Regions from separate parts of the Homo sapiens genome. Here region 2 is linked to region 1. Evidence: promoter capture Hi-C in 16 types of primary human blood cells and fetal thymus (Javierre and others, 2016). All regions are on one chromosome and are shown on one strand. The core of a region is centred on a gene start or on the middle of the fragment in contact, and the rest is flanking DNA. Distances in the headings are between cores, read along the strand shown.

Region 1 (5,323 bases), core at 2,824-5,323:
GATGTGTGTGATTCATATGAACATTGATAAAGGATGTCTCATCCCTCCTTCAAGTAAACTTGTTCTGACAAAATTTCACCACACTTTGTCAAATGGCAAACATTGTTCCTAAGAAACATCATATACGTGTTTATGCAAATTTTGTTTTTTAAACTTTTTATCAAGAAAAGAAAAAAAGTGGAAAATATGTTTTTGCCTGAAAAGTGAATATTATAAACAAGTAGCTTGGGTTTGAAAGATAGTCTGTGGAAACACAGATAAGGCTCTATGCTAAGATGCTTGCTGCTATAATCCTCAGTCCCCTAGTAAAAGTTTCTGCAAAAAGCTTGGCCAGCCATGATGCCATTGAGCATTGACCCCCATAATCAATCTCCCTGTGACTCTCACGGAGAATGCTGAAGCAAATTTTCTGTAGTGAGGGATCTGTAGACCATGGCATGCAGCCTCCAGTCTCACTGTGCAGACTGAGGACAGTGACACAGGTCATTGACACACGGCTGACCTAGGCAGTGATTCTCCCTACACTAATACAGTGATTCTTTCTGTGAGAGACTGCCTGCCCTTAATAAGATAACATGCCCCTTTGGCCGGGCACAGTGGCTCACGCCTGTAATCCCAGCACTTTGGGAGGCCGAGGCGGGCGGAACATGAGGTCAGGAGACTGAGACCATCCTGGCTAACACAGTGAAACCCCGTCTCTACTAAAAATACAAAAAAAAAAAAAATAGCTGGGTGTGGTGGCGGGCACCTGTAGTCCCAGCTACTCAGGAGGCTGAGGCAGGAGAATGGCATGAACCTGGGAGGTAGAGCTTGCAGCGAGCCAAGATCGAGCCACTGCTCTCCAGCCTGGGTGACAAAGCGAGATTCTGCCTCAAAAAAAAAAAAAAAAAAAAGAATAACCTGCCCCTTTAACCTACCAACTCTCTTCTCCTCTTTAGTTTGTTGAAGCAAAAACAACGTAAATATTGCATTAACCAAGTGTGTGTATGAGAGAGAGAGAGAGAGGAGAGAGAGAGAAGAGAGAGAGAGAGAGAGAATGAGCAGTTATGGCTCTTGGCATTTTTTACTGGACAAGGCAAACCTAAAGATTTTACTTTTAAACTTGAATTAATGCTGAGAGTAAGTCACATCTGCCCTCACTTCCCTCCCACTCCACACAAACATGCATACCACTGGAAAGGCAACATTTTATCAAAGGCATTTGGCGTTTTTCCTCTCTTATGACCCTCTAGAAGCTTGAGAATGTGGGAGAGAAGGGCTGGAACCAGAAATGGAGAAGTAGTGCTGGAACAATAATGACCTGAAAGCCAGTGGAACTGAGGTCTCCTGCAGGAACTTTTGGGGAGGCCTGGATACTTTGGAGACCAATGGGTATGGATGGAAAGAAGAGCAGAAATGATTCAGCTCATAAAGCAGTGAAAAGGAATGATCTAAGTACATGAACAAATCTTTAAAGCAAAATGTTAAAGTGTGGGAGCAAGTTCTACAGAACACATACAATATGATACTTTTTTTTTTTTTTTTAAAGAGACAGGGTCTCACTCTATTGCCCATGCAGGGGTGCAGTGGCACAATCAGAGCTCATAGCATCCTTCAACTCCTGGGCTCAAGCCATCTTCCCACTTCAGCCTCCTGAGTAGCTGGGACTTCATAGGCAGGCACCACCACACCCAGCTAATTTAAAACAATTTTTTTGGCTGGGCGCGGGGGCTCACACCTGTAATTCCAGCACTTTGGAAAGCCGAGGCAGGCAGATCATGAGGTCAAGAGTTCGTAGACCAGCATGGCCAATATGGTGAAACCTTGTCTCTACTAAAAATACAAAAATCAGCTGGGCGTGGTGGGATGTGCCTGTAGTCCCAGCTACTTGGGAGGCCAAGGCAGGAGAATTGCTTGAACCCCGGAGGCCGACATTGCAGCAAGCCGAGATTGCGCCACTGCACTCCAGCCTGAGTGACACAGCAAGACTCCGTCTCAAACAAACAAACAAACAAACAAACAATTTTTTTTTTTTAGAGATAGGGTCTTGCTATGTTGCCCAGGCTGGTCTCAAACTCTGGGCCTCAAGCCGTCTTCCCTCTCAGCCTTCCAAAGTGCTGGAATTACAGTCGTGAGTAACTGCACCTGGCCAACATGATGCCATTTACATGCAGCTTAAACGCATATACATGTGTTGAATCAGTGTCATGTGTTGATGAGGGACATAAACACATTTACTAAAAGTATAAACAGTTGCATGGGAATTAGTAACTTTAAATTCATAAAATTGTACTGGCTATCAGGTGAGTAGGGGACAAGTGGAATGAGGGAATGAGACCAGCTGGGTACCCAAATATTGCTAATGTTATTGCTTAAGCTGTGTGGTGAATACACAGGTGTTCAATTTACTATTATTTCGCACTTTCCGTGTACTTTAGCTATTTGACAATACATTTAAAAATCGAAAACTTATCCCATAATCCCAGGCTCCAGAGGTGATAGTAGGTGGTGTTTTCCAGACCTTTCCCGCTGCCTTGATTTTCTGTTAACTGGCCACCATCCTTGTCTCCTCGCGCTGCCGGTCGCTGCAGAACCCCTGCGCGGAGGGACTGCCAGTTCCCAGGAAGGTGCAGGACAGCTGGAGCCTCTTCTTCTCTGGGCAGGGATTTAAATGTTCTTGGGTAGCCTCGCCAGAGACCTGTGCGGCCCTACAGTGACCTTCTTTCCAGCCACTTTCCCATGAGCTCAAAGCTTTGGATTCTGTCACTTGCAAAGGGTCAGGCCTGATCCCTTGCGGGTTCTTGAGAAGTGAGTAAGACTTCCAGCGCCCCGGCCCAGACTGCGACGACCCAGACTGCGACGACCCAGTCTGCGCCTGGCGCAGGCTCCATAGACGGCTTTTCTTCAGCTCTGTCCACTGAGACCTCGAGCCCTTGAGCAGAAGATGGGAGAGAGAGGGTCTTGCTGGGCGGGCTCCAGAAGTCCTCCTGGCTCTGGGCGCAGGAGTTGGAAGAGAAGAGATAGAGAAACATCTACTCACCAGAATTGTAAACTGGAAGAAGGGTAGAGGAAAGGTGCCTAGAGAGGGCAGCTGGAATCAGGATTGGGCTGAATATTTTAGGAGTCCCCAAGTGCTACTTCTATCCGCTGGGAGCACGGGTTCGAATCTGCCCCCAGGCAGCCCGCTCCTGGTTCTCTTGTCCCCCTGTGCTGCGGCGGGGCCCACTTCGGCCCTCGGGTTCCCCGCACAGGCCACACAGGGCAGCAGCGCGCGCCGTACCCACGGGCAGTTCGAGAGGGCCGCGCGTGGCGGAGCCAGGCCCTTCGCCAGCGCCCAGTACAAATTTAGTACTAGAATTAAGAGAAACACACTGAAATCTGACAGCCCCGCCTAAGACCCGGGCGTGAGGAAGTCTGCGGTGGGTGATGAATACAAAGAACAGTTTCTCTTTCCTGTCAGTAAAACGCTGTTTCCAGAGCCTGCCAGGTTTCGCCCCAGTGGCCACACCTATGCCTGGCAGGTGCTGGTCCGAGCCCCTAGCGCCAGCAAAAGAAAGGAGGCGGACGCAACATTCTCGAATTACTAGGAGAAGGAGGGAGGCTTTCCCTTCCCCCCAGTGCCCCATGTACCAACGCGTCTCGCCATACCCCTTGCCCCTCTTCCAGCAGCTGACGGAGTAATTCGAGTAGGAATCGAAAGATTTGGAGGCGCCGGGGGAGAAACCTGCGGAGCGCTCTCCGAGCCTGTGGCGTCCCAGGAAGACTCCGAGCGGGGCCAGGGAAGTTCTCTGGAGGACATGGGGTGGATACCCAGGTCTCCTTCCCTGGGTGAAATAAGAACTGAAAATCTAAAAATAAAATAAATAAAATAAAATAGAAAACACAGAGAAGCAACAAAAAAGCGCTTCCCCTCCTCAGTTCTCCCCAGTCCACCCAAGGTTTACCAAGACTGTTGTAGTTGCAAGAGTGGGCTTCCGGCTCCACGTAACGATGCGATTGGGCTGTACCTCTGTCTGTCTCCTGCGCGATGTCCCGCCCCGGGAGGTGTCACGGAACTCAGCTGATATAAGCCCGGGATCCCGCCGGGTCAGGTTCTCTGCTCTGGACTTGGGAGGCTCCGTTGCCTGCTCCCGGAGGGAGACGCGCTGCCGAGGAGAACCCAGCGGGTAATGAATCCCCCGCGCTTCTTTGCCCAGGCCTTCCCCAAACCTCCCCCCGGTCTGCGCGGGTTCTCCTATTGGGCTGTGGTGAAGACAAGGTGCGGCGACTGCAGCTCCCCAGGTCTGGGCGCTGCCGGGAGAGAGTCTTTCCCGCTGGGGAGATTTAGTTTGTTGACTCAGGAGCACCTCCAACGACAGCTAGTGGCAGAGGACCCGGGAGCTGGGAGGTTCGGAACGCGGGGCGAGCTGGGGAGGAGGGAGAGGCGCCGACCCAGCGCAGCCTACATCTTAGCAAACCAAACCTGGCAACATTTCCCCACGGTTCAGGAGCACGAAGGACTTAAGGGAAAACGACGAAATCGGGGCTCCCGAGGATGAAGTTAAATGGGTTGTGGCCTGGGGACAAATAGGGCCAATGTCCAGTCTATTACAAGAGGCTTTGTTCCAGAGGCTTGCCTATAAGCCCCTGGCTTGGAACGTCAGTCTTCAAACTGTAACAACAGGGGCAGGCTACTAGGGTAGCCCACAAAGCCCTGTATCCCCCATACAGTGACTAACTAGAGCCCTAGTTGGTCATATCCGCAGTGGCTGAGACTGCGGTGTGATTCCGTTTCCCTCTTGCATGTGTCCCGGGAGCCCGAGTTGTCGAAGCCCAAATTCAGGCTCAGGAACCTGATGTGCTGTTGATGCCAAACACTGACACACAGATGCTTGGAGACAGAGGAAGATTTATTCCATTTGGCCAAAGCGAGAAGGCAAGAGGTCAAGATCTCTCAAATCCACCCTAACAAAAAGAAGTAGTGGGGAGTTTTTATGAGACCAGGAAGTAAGGGAGGGGGAATTTCAGGGAACCTCGGGGAAAAGTCTTTCTTCGTCTCAGATTACATCTTGAACCACCAGACTTCTGGGCGTCAGCAGCTGGTCACAATGCCCTTAAAGGCATTCATTCCTTCTGCAAAATTTTTTTCTTGACTCTGAAGCTATATCCTCCTGCTTGACAAAGAAACGGTGCATCAGCAGTTTATAATTATATTGCTAGAAAAAGGAATATTGGGCAAAAAGTGGGTAGTTAACATATGCAAATAAGCAAGGGCCTCATCGGAATTTTCATGGTTTCATCACTAAAAATGTTGGGGTGCTGAAATCTTGAGGGGCTCGGTTGCACCAGAAGGGGATCCTTTGTC
Region 2 (5,370 bases), core at 1,246-3,745, 170 kb after region 1:
TCTACAGATTCAACGAAAACCCTATCAAAATTCCCATGTCATTTTTCACAGAAAAATGACTGTATACCTAGAAAACCCTAAAGACTCATCCAAAAAGCTTCTAGATTTGATAAATGAATTCCATTAAGTTTCAGGATACAAAACCAATGTACACAAATTAGTACTGCTATACAGCAAGAGTGACCAAGCTGAGAATCAAATCAAAACCTCAATCCCTCCGACAACAGCTGCAAAATAAAATAAAATACTTAGCAATATACCTAGACAAGGAGGTGAAAGATCTCTACAAGGAAAACCACAAAACACTGCTGAAAGAAATCATAGATGAAACAAACAAATGGAAACACATCCCATGTTCATGGATAGGTAGAATCAATATTGTGAAAATGACCATACTGACAAAAGCAATCTACATCAATGCAATTCCCATCAAAATACCATCATCATTCTTCGCAGAACTAGAAAAAATAACCCTAAAATTTATATGGCACCAAAAAAGAGTCCACATAGCAAAAGCAAGACTAAGCAAAAAGAACAAATCTGGAGGCATCACATTACCTGACTTCAAATTATGCTACAAAGCTATAGTTACCAAAACAGCATGGTTCTGATATAAAAATAGGCATGTAGACCAGTGGAATAGAATAGAGAACACTGAAAGAAAGTCTAATGCTTACAGTTCAATTGGATCTTCAACAAAACAAGCAAAAACAAAGTGGGGAAAGGACACCCCATGCAACAAATGGTGCTGGGATAATCGGCAAGCCACATGTAGAAGAATAAAACCAGATCCTCATCTCTCACCTTATACAAAAACCAACCCAACAGGAATCAAAGACTTAAATCTAAGACCTGAAACCATAAAAATTCTACAAGATAACATCAGAAAAACAATTCTAGACGTTGGCTTAGGCAAAGAGTTCATAACCAAGAACCCAAAAGCAAATGTAACAAAAACAAAAATAAATAGATGAGAAGTAACTAAACTAAAAGGCTTCTGCACAGCAAAAGAAATAGCAGAGTAAAAAGACAATCCACAGAGTGGGAGAAAATATTTGCAACCTATGCATCTGACAAATGACTGATATCCAGAATCTATGAGGAACTCAAACAAATCAGCAAGAAAAAAACAAAGAATCCCATCAAAAAGTGGGCAAAGGATATAAATAGACAATTCTCAAAAGAAGATATACAAATGGCCAATGAACATGAAAATATGCTCAACATCACTAATGATCATGGAAATGAAAATTAAGTCCACAATGAGACCATCTTACACCTGCAAGAATGGCCATAATTAAAAGTCAAAAAATAATAGATGTTGGCAAGTATGCACTGAAAAGGGAATTCTTTTATACTGCTGGTGTGAATGTAAACTATTACAACCACTGTGGAAAAATGTGTGGAGATTCATTAGGGAATTAAAAGTAGAACTACCATTTGCTCCAGCAATCCCACTACTGGGTATCTACTGAGAGGAAAATAAGTCATTACATGAGAAAGATGTTTGCACACACATTTATAGCAGTACAATTTGCAATTCCAAAAATATGGAACCAGCCTAAATGCCCATCAGCCATCAAGTGGATAAAGAAAATGTGGTATATATACACCATGGAATGCTATCAGTCATAAAAAGGAATGAAATAATGGCATTCACAGCAACCTGAATGGGGTGGGAACCATTATTCTAACTGAAGTAACTCAGGAATGGAAAACCAAATATTGTATGTTCTCACTCATAAGTGGGAGCTAGGCCATGAGGACACAAAGACTAAGAATGATACAAAGGACTTTGGGGACTCAAGGGGAAGGGTGGAAGGGGAATGAGGGATAGAAGACTACACACTGGGTACAGTGTACATTGCTCAGGTGATAGCTGCACCAAAATCTCAGAAGTCACCACTAAAGAACTTATTCATGTAACCATAAACCACTTGTTCCCCAAAAACTAGTGAAATAAAAATTTTAAAAATTAACATATAAGATACCTAGAAAAAGCATACATTTTAAAAGTACTTACTACACAAAGTAAATAAATTTTTGAAACCAATCTGCTTTGTTCTCACAAGAAAATAAAAATAGCCTGAAATAAGGATCTGAAATATAAGTCAGACTAATACTGAGATGCCAGCTATTGAATTTAGGATTCCTTAAAAATATCTTACCAAAATTAACACCGAAGGAAACAGAAAGAGTAGGCAACCCTTTTATTAAAAAACCAGAAATATGTCAGGCACAGTGGCTCAAGCCTGTAATCCTAGAGCCCTGATAGGCTGAGGCAGTTGGATCACTTGAGCCCAAGAGCTTGAAGCTGCAGTGAGCCATGATCACACCGCTACACTTCAGCCTGGGTGACAGAGCCAGTTCCTGATTGAAAAAAGAACTAACAGTCTTCCCACAAAAGGAAGACAAACCATTTTACAGGCAAATTCCACCACAATTTCAAGCATATCATTCTAATCTTATATAAATTTTTTCAAAGGATAGGAAAAGAGGAAATAATCCCCAACTCATTCTGAGTTCAGCACAATTTTAATACAAATACTAGACAAAGAAAGAGAGAAAACTATTCTTAGACCTTGTCACTCATGGATTTAGATACAGAAATTCTAAATTAAGTATTAGCAGCTGAATAAAAATGCATAAAAAAGATAATACTGCAAGACCGAACTGAGTTTGTTCCAGGAATGCAAAAAAGGCTTAATAGAAAATATTAAACATCATTTGCCAATCAACATATTAAAAACATTTAATCATGTCAACAGGAGTAGAAAATGTGTTTGATAAAATTCAGTATTCATCCATGATAAAAAAAGAAAAAACATTTAGTAAACTAGAAATATCATTAAACTTCCTTAGCCTGATAATGGTATATTCAAAGTACCTAAGGCAAACCTCAATTTCTTTTTTTTATTATTATACTTTAAGTTCTGGGGTACATGTGCACAATGCACAGGTTTGTTACATAGGTATACATGTGCCATGTTGGGCAAACCTCAATTTAAATGGGAAAGCCATAGACACACTCTCTTTAAAATCTGAACTAAGACTATTTGCATTAAGAATTGTCTAAAAGTTTTCTTCAGTTCATTAGGACAAGAAAAAAAGACATTAAAGGCAGAAAGATTGGAAAGGAAAAGACAAAACATTTTATGATCTGCATATTTGTTTATACAAAATGTAAATAATCTATGGACAGATTATTTAAAATAATAAGGAAACCTAACAATGTGGCCTTATATAAACTCAGTATGTAAAAATCAACTGCATTTCTACACATTAGCAATAAACAAGAAAATGGAACTTTTAAAAAAAATATCTTTACAACAACAAAAATAAAAGGAACCTAGACATAAGTGTAATAAAAGATGTACAAAATGTGTACACAGAAATTTATGAAACTATAAAGGCATTAAAGAAGATATAAATAAGTAAAAAGATTTCCTATACTCAAGGATACAACTTACTGATATAAATATGCCATGTCTTCCCAAATCTATCTAGAGATGCACTGTAACTGCAAATCAAAATCCCAAAAGTTTTTTTGGCATTTAAGCAGATTCTAAAGTGTGTATAGAAGATTAAATGATTAAAAATTGCCTAGACACTCTCAAAGAAAAACTAAAGGGCTTACCCTACCAGATATCGATACTTAGTATAACATTACAGTGGCAGGGACAGACAATTTGATCAAGGAAACATAATAGAGATTCTAGAAAGAGGATTATCTATAGATATACAGTTGACCCTTGAACAACATGGGTTTGAATTGCATGGGTCCACTTACGCCAAGATCTTCTTCCACCTCTGCCACCCCAAGATAGCAAGACCAACCCTTCTCTTCCTCAGCCTACACAACGTGAAGGCAATGAGTACGAAGACCTCTAAATGATCCATTTACACCTAATTTATAGAAAATATATTTCCTCTTCCTTATGACTTTCTCAATAACATTTTCTTTTCTCTAGCTTACTTTATTGTAAGAATATAGTATATGATACTTATTGTAAGAATATAGTATATGATACACACAAAATATGTGTTAATTGACTACGTTATTGGTAAGGCTTTGGGTCAAAAGTAAGCTATTAGTAGTTAACTTTTTGGAAAGTCAAAAGTTATACACCGATTTTCGACTGCACCTTTTGTTCAAAGGTGAATTGTACTTAGTAATATGATGAAGGTGGCATGGCAGATCATGGTGAAAGTGAGACTTTTCAGTATTGCGGCTGGGAAAGTTGTTATCCACATGGAATAAAATGAAATAGCATGCTACATTACTGTCTATTGAGATGGATTGTGTATTTATTTATTTGTTTGTTTGTTTGTTTGTTACTTACTGAGACAAGGTCTCACGCTGTTGCCTGGGCTGGAGTACAGTGGTGTGATCTCAGCCCACTGCAAGCTCCGCCTCCTGGATTCAAATGATTCTTGTGCCTCAGTCTCCTGAGTAGCTGGGTCTGCAGGTGTGCACCACCACACCTGGCTAATTTTTGTATTTTAGTAGAGACACGGCTTCACCATGTTGGCCAGGCTGTTCTCTTGGCCTCAAGTGATCCGCCCACCTCTGGATTGTGTATTTACATGTTAAATGTTGAGTGCAAAACTTTAAAATTTTTAGGAGAAAATTAAAAGAAATATCTTTATAATCCTAGTGTATAGAAGGATCTCTTATGCAAGGCACAAAGAGCACTAAACCGCAACATTTTAAATGATAGTTTTGCCTACATTAAAATTTAAAACTACTACTTATGAGAGTATACCTTAAGAAAAGAGAAAATGCAAGCCACCAGCTTGGAGAAAACATTTGGTAGTCGTTAATACCTATGACTAAAAGAGGATTTTATTCTAGAATCTCTAAATTACTCCTATAAATCAATAAGAAAAAGACAAAGCTTATTAGAAAAATGGTCAAAGACAAAATAGACACTGCACAGAAGATGAAATATATATGGCCAGTAAGTATATGGAGAGATGCTCAACCCAATCAATAACCAGGGAAATGCACATCACAAAGACATACCATTTTATACACATTTGATTGAGAAGAAGGAGGTCAAGAGAAGGACAACCATAAATAAGAAAAATTTGACAACTGGAGAAGATGTGGCATTTCTAATATATTGCTGATGGGAGTAACATGACCTATCTACTTTCAAAACAATTTGGCATTATCTTATTACTTGAATATTCACACACCTCCTGAGCCAACAATTCTACTCCTACTTAGGCACCCAGGAGAAAATCTTGCACATATGCACTAGAAGACCGACTAAGAATGTTCAAGGTAACACTGTTCATGTCACAGAAAGCAGGAAATAACTCAATTGCCCATCATCAACAACAACAACAAAAACAGATAGATCA

What was found. Contacts are between HindIII fragments. The CHiCAGO score rates a contact against its expected background, and 5 or more counts as called.
Region 2: a fragment that was not itself captured here is called in contact with the fragment with the promoter of SLFN5 in region 1 in 1 of 17 cell types (total CD4 T cells); the score reaches 5.2 in total CD4 T cells.

What each region holds. Positions count from the first base shown.
Region 1 is chr17:35,238,999-35,244,321 of GRCh38, forward strand. SLFN5 (schlafen family member 5) reads left to right here and starts at 4,074. Exons shown (of 5, transcript NM_144975.4): 1 at 4,074-4,145. It overlaps LOC105371932, which reads right to left and starts at 5,153. Exons shown (of 4, transcript XM_047437262.1): 1 at 5,113-5,153; 2 at 3,924-4,221; 3 at 3,628-3,827; 4 at 1,045-2,972. The coding sequence starts at 5,153. The coding sequence ends at 2,525. RefSeq lists enhancers at 3,826-3,885, 4,406-4,515, 4,489-5,117. The HindIII fragment of the contact is 6,062 bases long and covers 2,729-5,323 here.
Region 2 is chr17:35,414,542-35,419,911 of GRCh38, forward strand. All of the region lies in intron 3 of SLFN12 (schlafen family member 12), which reads right to left. Among named protein-coding and RNA genes, the nearest start is that of SLFN12, 15 kb to the right of the region's middle. RefSeq lists a silencer at 2,267-2,316. The HindIII fragment of the contact is 4,801 bases long and covers 96-4,896 here.